Regions from separate parts of the Homo sapiens genome. Here all the other regions are linked to region 1. Evidence: promoter capture Hi-C in human tissues and cell types (Jung and others, 2019). All regions are on one chromosome and are shown on one strand. Each heading gives the region's core, a stretch centred on a gene start or on the middle of the fragment in contact. The rest is flanking DNA. Distances are from core to core; before and after follow the strand shown.

Region 1 (3,197 bases), core at 261-2,760:
ACGACGCTAGAATTTTTTTTTATCATTAATTGTAAACGTGCAAAATACCTGCTGGTACTTCACTTTAGAAGAATGTAATTGGCAAAAGGAAAAAAAGGAAAAAAGAGGCGGCTGATGAATAGATAATAGATCTTTAACCACCAATAAACAGAGAGCAGCGCCAGCAGCCTGGGGATGTGATCATAATTATGCCGCCGCGCGAGCCAATGGGGACGAGGGAACTCGGTCCTAAAATCATCCCAAAACCGAAGGCGAGCTCGAAAATGCGGACACGGCCCGGGACCGGAGATGCGATCCGTAGTCGTTAGTTGCACTGGGTTTGCACAGCAACCACCACCCCCCCACCAACCCCGGGACAACAGATGGCATAATAATAATAATAGAAATAATAATAATAAAATAATATCATCTATAATAATAATAACATTGACCACACTGACAAAAATAATTACGACGGAACCTTAATAGTACAGTAGCACCATATCGGGCTCTCCCCTGACCTTGGACTGCCGGTCCCAGATATTCCAGAAGGAATTGTTTTGGGGAAGGAGGTGAGCACCCTCCCAGACAGAAAACGCTAGAGACCGTGGGGCGAGAGAGGGAGAGAGTTGGAAGCCCACTGCTCCGGCGGGGTCGGCAGCTCCCGGTCTCAACTCGCAAACGAACGAGCCGGGTCAAGAATCGCGAACGCACCGACCCTGGGACCTCGAGGCTAAGCGTGGTTGATGGGGTGGGAGGACCCCGTACCCCTCACTCCAGGATCCCTCCTGGCCTAGGAAACCGCTGGGAGTTTTGCTAAGTGTGGGGATTGGTATAACCGAACGGCGCCTTTAGCCCGGGAACCAGCCCCTGCCCGCTTACCCTCGCGGTGCTCTTGGGGCGATCCCAGTTCTCCCGACGCGGGGCCGCGTAAGGCAGCAGCGGCGGAGCGCTAGGCTAGAGGAATCTGTCTGTCCTTCTGTCCTACCAGCTTGGGCGAGGCAGGCTCGGGATTCAGGGGGCCGCAGCGGAGGCGGCGCCGGCCAGGGACTCTGCAGGGACCGGGGTGCCCCGGAGGGAGTGGTGCTGGTGGAGGAGGAGGCGGTGGCTGAGGGGGAGTAGGTGGGGAAAGAGGAGGAGGAAGAAGAGGAGGAGGAGGAAGAAGAGGAGGAGGAGGAGAAGAAGAAACTGGAGGAAGAGGAGGAGGCGAAGGAGGAGGAGAAGCCGCAGCGGGCGCCGCAGGAGCGAGTGAGCTGGGAGCGAGGGGCGAAGGCGCGGAGAAGCCCGGCCGCCCGGTGGGCGGCAGAAGGCTCAGCCGAGGCGGCGGCGCCGACTCCGTTCCACTCTCGGCCCGGATCCAGGCCTCCGGGTTCCCAGGCGCTCACCTCCCTCTGACGCACTTTAAAGAGTCTCCCCCCTTCCACCTCAGGGCGAGTAATAGCGACCAATCATCAAGCCATTTACCAGGCTTCGGAGGAAGCTGTTTATGTGATCCCCGCACTAATTAGGCTCATGAACTAACAAATCGTTTGCACAACTTGTGAAGAAGCGAACACTTCCATGGATTGTCCTTGGACTTAGGGCGCCCTGCCCGCCTTTTGCAGAGGAGAAAAAACTTTTTTTTTTTTTTGCCTCCCCCGAGAACTTTCCCCCCTTCTCCTCCCTGCCTCTAACTCCGATCCCCCCACGCCATCTCGCCAAAAAAAAAAAAAAAAAAAAAAAAGAAAAAAAAAGAAAAAAAAAGAAAAAAAATTACCCCAATCCACGCCTGCAAATTCTTCTGGAAGGATTTTCCCCCCTCTCTTCAGGTTGGGCGCGTTTGGTGCAAGATTCTCGGGATCCTCGGCTTTGCCTCTCCCTCTCCCTCCCCCCTCCTTTCCTTTTTCCTTTCCTTTCCTTTCTTTCTTCCTTTCCTTCCCCCCACCCCCACCCCCACCCCAAACAAACGAGTCCCCAATTCTCGTCCGTCCTCGCCGCGGGCAGCGGGCGGCGGAGGCAGCGTGCGGCGGTCGCCAGGAGCTGGGAGCCCAGGGCGCCCGCTCCTCGGCGCAGCATGTTCCAGCCGGCGCCCAAGCGCTGCTTCACCATCGAGTCGCTGGTGGCCAAGGACAGTCCCCTGCCCGCCTCGCGCTCCGAGGACCCCATCCGTCCCGCGGCACTCAGCTACGCTAACTCCAGCCCCATAAATCCGTTCCTCAACGGCTTCCACTCGGCCGCCGCCGCCGCCGCCGGTAGGGGCGTCTACTCCAACCCGGACTTGGTGTTCGCCGAGGCGGTCTCGCACCCGCCCAACCCCGCCGTGCCAGTGCACCCGGTGCCGCCGCCGCACGCCCTGGCCGCCCACCCCCTACCCTCCTCGCACTCGCCACACCCCCTATTCGCCTCGCAGCAGCGGGATCCGTCCACCTTCTACCCCTGGCTCATCCACCGCTACCGATATCTGGGTCATCGCTTCCAAGGTACGTGCCACGTCGCGGAACTGCAGCGCGCCGCTCCCGCCGCATCCTTCACTGCCCCCGGCCTGCTCCGGGTGGGCGCTTGGCAAGGCCTGGGCGGAGGTTCCTCCGGCTCGCGGGCCAGCGCGCCCTGTTGGGAAACTAGGCGGCGCGGGGCCGGGCGTGGTGTCGATCCCCAGTCTCCGAAGCTACGACTGGTTTGGAGTGATGGCCTGCGGGCCGCTTGACCCTTTGGGAAGGGGTGCGAACGGAGAAGTTGTCCCCCAGTGCGCTCGAATCAGAGCAGGCTGGGCTGTGCGTGCCCGGCGCCGCGGAGCCCAGAGCCCGCGGGATCCCCAGGCTCCTGGTACCCTCGGCAATGCCCCCAACCGTCCTGGCTCCGAGGGGCGCGGACAGGACTCGGCCGCCAGGCTTGCTTTCGACTGCGTTCGACCCTGTTCACCACCCACTTTGCGCCCCTTCAGTCCAGACCCGCGGCTTCTTAGTCTTCCACCCTCTTCTGGAGGCGAGAGGATCCTCGCGCCCCGGGAGAAAAGTATGGGATTTGTTTTTTCTTTCCTGCTTTTCGGAGGCCTGGGGAGGGGCGGGAACCCGTGCGGGAGGAAAGCTCCAGGGCTTGGCGCTCTCGCCGCGACCTGCTTAATTGGGGCGCCGAGCAGCCACAGCGGGAAGGCAGGTTCGGTCTGGTTTTTGTTTTTCTTTCTTTCTTTAAAAAAAAAAAAAAAGAACCTGGTCAGGAAACTGTCTTAGAGGGAAATATCT
Region 2 (2,990 bases), core at 235-2,734, 540 kb after region 1:
TCCCCACCTTAAACTTGATATTGGTGGATGGGAGCAGGAATTCACAATGCAGCTAAAATAAAGATGCTCAAAGCTCCCTCTTCTGTATGGCAGACCTGGATTGTGTGCCTTTGAGAGGGGCAAGCTTGTCTTTCCTATTCCCTAAGAAATATATCCTTACCTAGCCAAACCTATTTCCCCTTCCTGAGGGCCTATGCAGGCATGCACAACACAGCAGTGTTCTACGTTAGATTTTGCACCAGGGTTCACTCAGGGTCTGCTGGTGGCTGTGAGAAGAACCTCTCAGCTGGAATGGTTCATGAGTGAATGGTAAAGCCTAGGTTTCAATTACTTTGGAGAATGGAACGTTTCTTAGCTTTCTTTCCTCATGAACTTCGTGGTATCATTTGTCATGCCATTTTGCCAGCTATGCACTTTTTTACATAGTTTTGTTTGGTTTGCAACTCACGAATATCAATCAAAGAAGTTGTTTCATTTTTAAGAAATGGCAAAGAATATCTTGCCTCCTTCTGTTGTTTCATAGGTGAGTTATATGGCATGTGGAAGCTGAGAATTCAAACTCAATTCATGCTAACTCTTTCCTAAAATTAGGAGAACATTTCTGATTATAACTCATTTCCCTATTTACAAGGTCAAACATTTTGACTTGTAAGGTACCAAACAAATATCATGCTTCTGCGTTTGCCAGATTATGTTCTAAAGATATTGACTGGTACATTGTGGTCAAATAATTTTGGGAACAGTGGGTTAAAGAGAGGTAGAGATGTTTCTTTACTGAGTCTTAGAGGCACTACACCAAAGTGGTTAGGAGTGTGGACTCCAGAGACCCCACTGTGATCTAACTTTTGATTCCACCACTGACTAAATGTGTGATCTTGGGCAAGTCAATATCTCTGCACCTCAATTTCCTCATCTGCAAAATGGAGTCAGAAATAGGGCATATCTCTCAGAGTAGTTGTGAGAATTACTTCCATTGATATATATCGTATATATAAAGCCCTTAGAACAGAGCCTGACACAAGATAAGCACCATGTATGCCCTGTATTAGCTATTATTGCTATAATTATCAAGTTTCTAAAGGGGAGATAAAGCAGTCAGTCTTTCCCAGTCTTACCTATTTGTCCATCCATCCATCCATCCATCCATCCATCCATCCATCCATCCAATTCTCTTCTGACCAATATAAACAGCCTGAAGTGAGAGAGAGAGAGAGAGAGAGAGAGTTTGAAAAGTAACTAAAAATTGCATCCTCGTTTGTATTATCTATTACTGCTGCCTGCTTTTATTGGGTATTTGCTTATTCACTTTTTCTTGTTTTAAAGAATGGATCAGAACACAATTTGAGGGCTATCCCATAGAAAGATTGAAATATTACATTATTTATCAATTAATTCCTGCAGGCTTCCCCAAAGTCCTCTCTCTCACTCGAGAATGGACATTTTGCAAACAGAAATCACAAATATACTAATGTCCTTTATTTATTAGCCAAATTTTGTTTGAGTGCCTGCTGTGTGCCAGGGACTGTTCTGGGCACTGGGGACACAGCAATGAGTGAAATAGACAAACATCCCATGTTTCATGGAGCTTAGATTCTGTCAGTAACCAATAAGCAGCTCTAGAAACCAATAATGAAGCCACAATCAAGTCATCAAGTCCGCTACATTTCTCAAGGCTTCTGAATACATTAAAAAAATGAACAAATTGCAAAATCAGATTTCCTAAATGTTAGTGTATTTCAAATGATATTTTATAAATTATTGCGTGTAGCACAAAATAAATAGAATAACAGAATATTTAATCTCTTTTAGAAATAATCTCAAAAGTAAAGAAGTATGAGACCTCAGCTGGGCCATAAGGGGCTCTTGTAGGCGCCCCCCCAACACCCGTACCTACTGACCTTATCCCACCCCAAACTTATGCTGGGTTTAAGTCTTGGTTAAAACTCAATGAACTAATCTGCCATTTTTCAGCTAAAATAATGAAGGTTTTTTTCCCTCTCAGCCTTTGTTCAGGGTAAATTTCTTAGACATATAGTTTGTTTTTTATCTACACTAGTTTTTTTAGTTTAAGGAGCCTATAAAATAGCATATCAACATTAAAGCCTTACATCAAATCAGAAAAAGACAGACGTGCAATTTTTTAAAAATTTTAAAGAGATATGGAGCCATATATGTCTCTGTCTCAGACTAGAATCAAGCACTGAAATATGACATATACGATGACTGCAATTCAACTCACTAATGTTTTGTTCCTGACATGCAATTTTGGTACATGATAACATTGAGTAGTTGTTTTGTTTTTAATTACAAATATAAAAAATGACACTTAACCAGGCTGGATGTTGGACTTTTAGATAATTTTAAGATAGGGAAATTGTGAATACACAAATATTTAGTGTGTTTGGTTAATAAACTCAGAAGTATATAATTTTTCTAATATTTTAACTTGTGTTTTCTTCTTCTTTTTTTTTTTTTTTTTTTTGACAGAGTTTCACTCTTGTTGCCCAGGCGGGAGTGCAATGGCGCCATCTCGGCTCACTGCAACCTCTGCCTCCTGGGTTCAAGCAATTCTGCTGCCTCAGCCTCCCGAGTAGCTGGGATTACAGGCATGTGCCACCACGTCTGGCTAATTTTGTTTTTTCAGTAGAGACAGGGTTTCTCCATGTTGGTCAGCCTGGTCTTGAACTCCCGACCTCAAGTGATCCGCCTGCCTCGTCCTCTCAAAGTGCTGGGATTACAGGCGTGAGCCACCACGTCTGGCCTGAGCCACTGCACTAGGCCGTGTTTGCTTCTTTGGTTATCTGATCAACACCAAGATCAAGCATTTTATATCTTTGGGAAATGCAGGACCTCAGAATTATAAATTTTTAGAGTTAGAAGGGGGGCTTGAAGACCCTCTCATTGGACCCACTCCTTTTACAAATGGGGAAACATAAGACCAGAGTGGGTAGGATCAGTTGTCTTTTGATTGAATTACAATTTTTGTCATG
Region 3 (3,063 bases), core at 420-2,919, 580 kb after region 1:
GGAAGTGCCTGGTGGGAGGTGAGTAGATCATGGGGCAGATTTCCCCCTTGTTGTTCTTGTGACAGTGAGTGAGTTCTCATGAGATCTGGTGGTTTAAAAGTGTGTGGCACTTTCCCCTTTGCTCTCTCTCTCCTGCTGTCATGTGAAGAAGGTGCTTGCTTCCTCTTCCCCTGAGTGTAAGTTTCCTGAGGCCTCCCAGTCATGCTTCCTGTTAAGCCTGTAGAACTGTGAGTCAATTAAACCTCTTTTCTTCATAAATTACCCAGTCTCAGGTAGTTCTTTATAGCAGTGTTAGAACAGACTAATACCGTACCCAACAGGTTATTTTTCCACCCCTCAGCTGCTCTCCCATCCTCCCGTCTTTTGTAGTTTCCAACGTGTATTACTCTACTCTGTATGTCCGTTTGTACCCACTCTTTAGCTCCCACTTCTTGTAAGTGAGAACATGCAGTACTTGATTTTCTGTTTTGAGTTGTTTCACTTAGGATAAGGGCCTCCAGTTCCATCCATGTCACTACAAAAGACATGATTTCATTCTGTTTTATGGCTGCATAGTATTCATATATATATGCCACATTTTCTTCATTCAGTCCTGCACTCATGGGCACTTAGGTTGACCTTAGGTTGATTCCATGTTCCTATTGTGAATAGTGCTGTGATAAACATACAAATGCAGATAACTTTTTGATATAGTGTTTTCTTTCCCTTTGGGTATATACCAGTTATGAGATTGCTGGATCAAAGAGTAGTTCTATTTTTTTTGTTCTTTGTGGATTCTCCACACTGTTTTCCATAGAGGTTGAACTCTATCCATTCCCACTAATAGTGTACAAGCATTTTCTTTTCCCCACATCCTTGCCAACTCTGTTGCTTTTTGATTTTTAATAATAGCCATTCTGACTGGTATAAGATGGTATCTTACTGTTGCTTTAATTTGTATTCTGTGATAATTAGTGCTGTTGAGCATTTTTTCCATATGTTTTTTGGCTGATGTATATCTTCTCTCTGCTTATATCCTTTGCCCACTTTGTATTGGGGTTATTTGGTTTTTCTTTCCTTGTTGAGTTGTTTGAATTTCTTGTAGTTTCTAAATATTAGCCCTTTGTCAGATGTGTAGTTTGCAAATATTTTTTCCCATCCTTAGGTTGTTTGTTTACCTTGCTGATTCTTTTGCTGTGCAAAAGTTTTTAGTTTAATTAAGTCTCAATTTGTCTATTTTTGTTGTGTTTGCTTTTGAGAACTTGATCATAAATTCTTTGCCTAGGCCTATGTCCAGAACAAGTTTTCCTGGGTTTTCTTCTAGGATTTTTATAGTTTCAGGTCTTACCTTTAAGTCTTTAATCCACTTTGAGTCAATTTTTGTACATGGTGACAAGTATGGGTCCAGTTTCATCCTTCTGCATATGGCTATCCAATTGTCCCAGCACCATGTATTGCATAGGATGTCCTTTCCCCAGTGTACGTTTTTGTTGACTTTGTCTAAGATCAGTTGGCTGTAGATATGTGGCTTTATTTCTGGGTTCTCTCATCTGTTCCATTGATCTATGTATTTTTACACCAGTACTGTGCTGTTTGGGTTACTATGGCCTTGTAGTGTACTTGAAGTCAGGTAATGTGATGCCTCTGGCTTTGCTCTTTTTGCTTAGGATTGTTTTAGCTATTAGGGTTTTTTTTTTTTGGTTTAATATGAATTATAGAATAGTTTTTTCTAATTCTGTGAAAAATGACATTGGTAATTTGATAGGAATTGTGTTGAATCTGTAAATTATTTGGGCAGTATGGTCATTTTAATTGTATTGATTCTTCCAATTCTTGGCACGGGATGTTATTCCATTTGTTTGTGTCATCTATAATTTCTCATCAGTGTTTTGTAGTTCTCCTTAGAGAGATCTTTCACCTCCTTGGTTAAATATATTTTTTTGGTAGCTAATGTAATTGGAATTGCCTTCTCAATTTGGTCCTCTGCTAGATTGTTATTGGGGTATTGAAATGCTACTTATTTCTGTATGTAAATTCCCAAAACTTTACTGTATTCACATTCTTTTGTAATAAGATATAATAAGAGGAAGTGAGCATGATGGTGGAGGAATAAACAATGTGCAGGGGCAAGGAGAATGGAATGTTGAACTCTGCCTGGCGGACTCTGGGCTGGCATCTTAGGAGGTGATATTTGAGCTTAGTCCTTAGGAGTGAACAGCGCTTGCCCCTGAGGCAGCTCATTTCCTTTTTGAAAAGTCCTTCCTTACATTGAATAAAAATGTGTGCTTCATTAATTTTTACTTAAACTCTGAATGATCATTATAACCCAAACCAATGACTCTTGAGGACTTTGATCTCAATGGGTGGAAAGACACCAGGAATGTATAAAGCTTGCTTTCAGTAAGTCTCTGCCTTATGGAGGGTCCCTTGAAAGGAATGTACAGAATATTCTCATTTCCTGGATAATAAATTCCTAAATAAGAATTTTTAGGGATCACCAGAGGAAACTACTAGCTAGTTAATATTTCAGCAAGCATGAATTCTTAGGCAAATGGCCCATCTTCCTGCTGCACGCTTCTGGGTAGCTCTCTCCTGCGTGCAGGAGGAAGATGGGAAGATACACAAGCAATGAGATGACATGCAAAGTGTGAAGAGCCCGTTCCTTGATCTAGAAATCTAGGAGATATCAGGGACCCCTCTCCTGCATAATCTATCACCACTTCCTGTTAACCCTAACCTTGCCTGGGCTCCAGCCACTTTTTCTGTCCCCTATGCCCCCAGTGTCTCTTCCACGAATGGTTGCAACAGCCTCCTGCCTGCTCTCCATTGTTTCCATTCATTCACATCTTTCTCTAGCCATTCTCCTTTCAAATAGTCAGGGATGCTAAAAACTGCAAATTTGATCATGTCACCCCAGCCAGAAGCCCTTCAATGCCTTCCCATGACCTGAAAATCAAGCCCAACCCATTTTACATGGTTTATAAGCCCTGTAGATGCTGGCCTCACCAACCTGTTCAAACACTTTCAAACCACTCACACCTTTGCTCTCTCACACCTACTGCCCCCATCACTAGACTTTTCTTA

The links. Contacts are between HindIII fragments. The study calls those that stand out against the background at their distance.
Region 2: a fragment that was not itself captured here is called in contact with the fragment with the promoter of EMX2 in region 1 in 1 of the 25 tissues and cell types used here (lymphoblastoid cells).
Region 3: a contact is called between a fragment that was not itself captured here and the fragment with the promoter of EMX2 in region 1, in 1 of the 25 tissues and cell types used here (lymphoblastoid cells).

What each region holds. Positions count from the first base shown.
Region 1 is chr10:117,541,236-117,544,432 of GRCh38, forward strand. It overlaps EMX2 (empty spiracles homeobox 2), which reads left to right and starts at 1,511. Exons shown (of 3, transcript NM_004098.4): 1 at 1,511-2,438. The coding sequence starts at 2,033. It also overlaps EMX2OS. RefSeq lists an enhancer at 2,726-3,197. The HindIII fragment of the contact is 12,526 bases long and covers 1-3,197 here.
Region 2 is chr10:118,080,612-118,083,601 of GRCh38, forward strand. The region is part of intron 3 of CASC2 (cancer susceptibility 2); the gene reads left to right. Among named protein-coding and RNA genes, the nearest start is that of RAB11FIP2, 35 kb to the left of the region's middle. The HindIII fragment of the contact is 4,931 bases long and covers 1-2,990 here.
Region 3 is chr10:118,124,788-118,127,850 of GRCh38, forward strand. The region is part of intron 3 of CASC2 (cancer susceptibility 2); the gene reads left to right. Among named protein-coding and RNA genes, the nearest start is that of RAB11FIP2, 79 kb to the left of the region's middle. The HindIII fragment of the contact is 5,467 bases long and covers 1-3,063 here.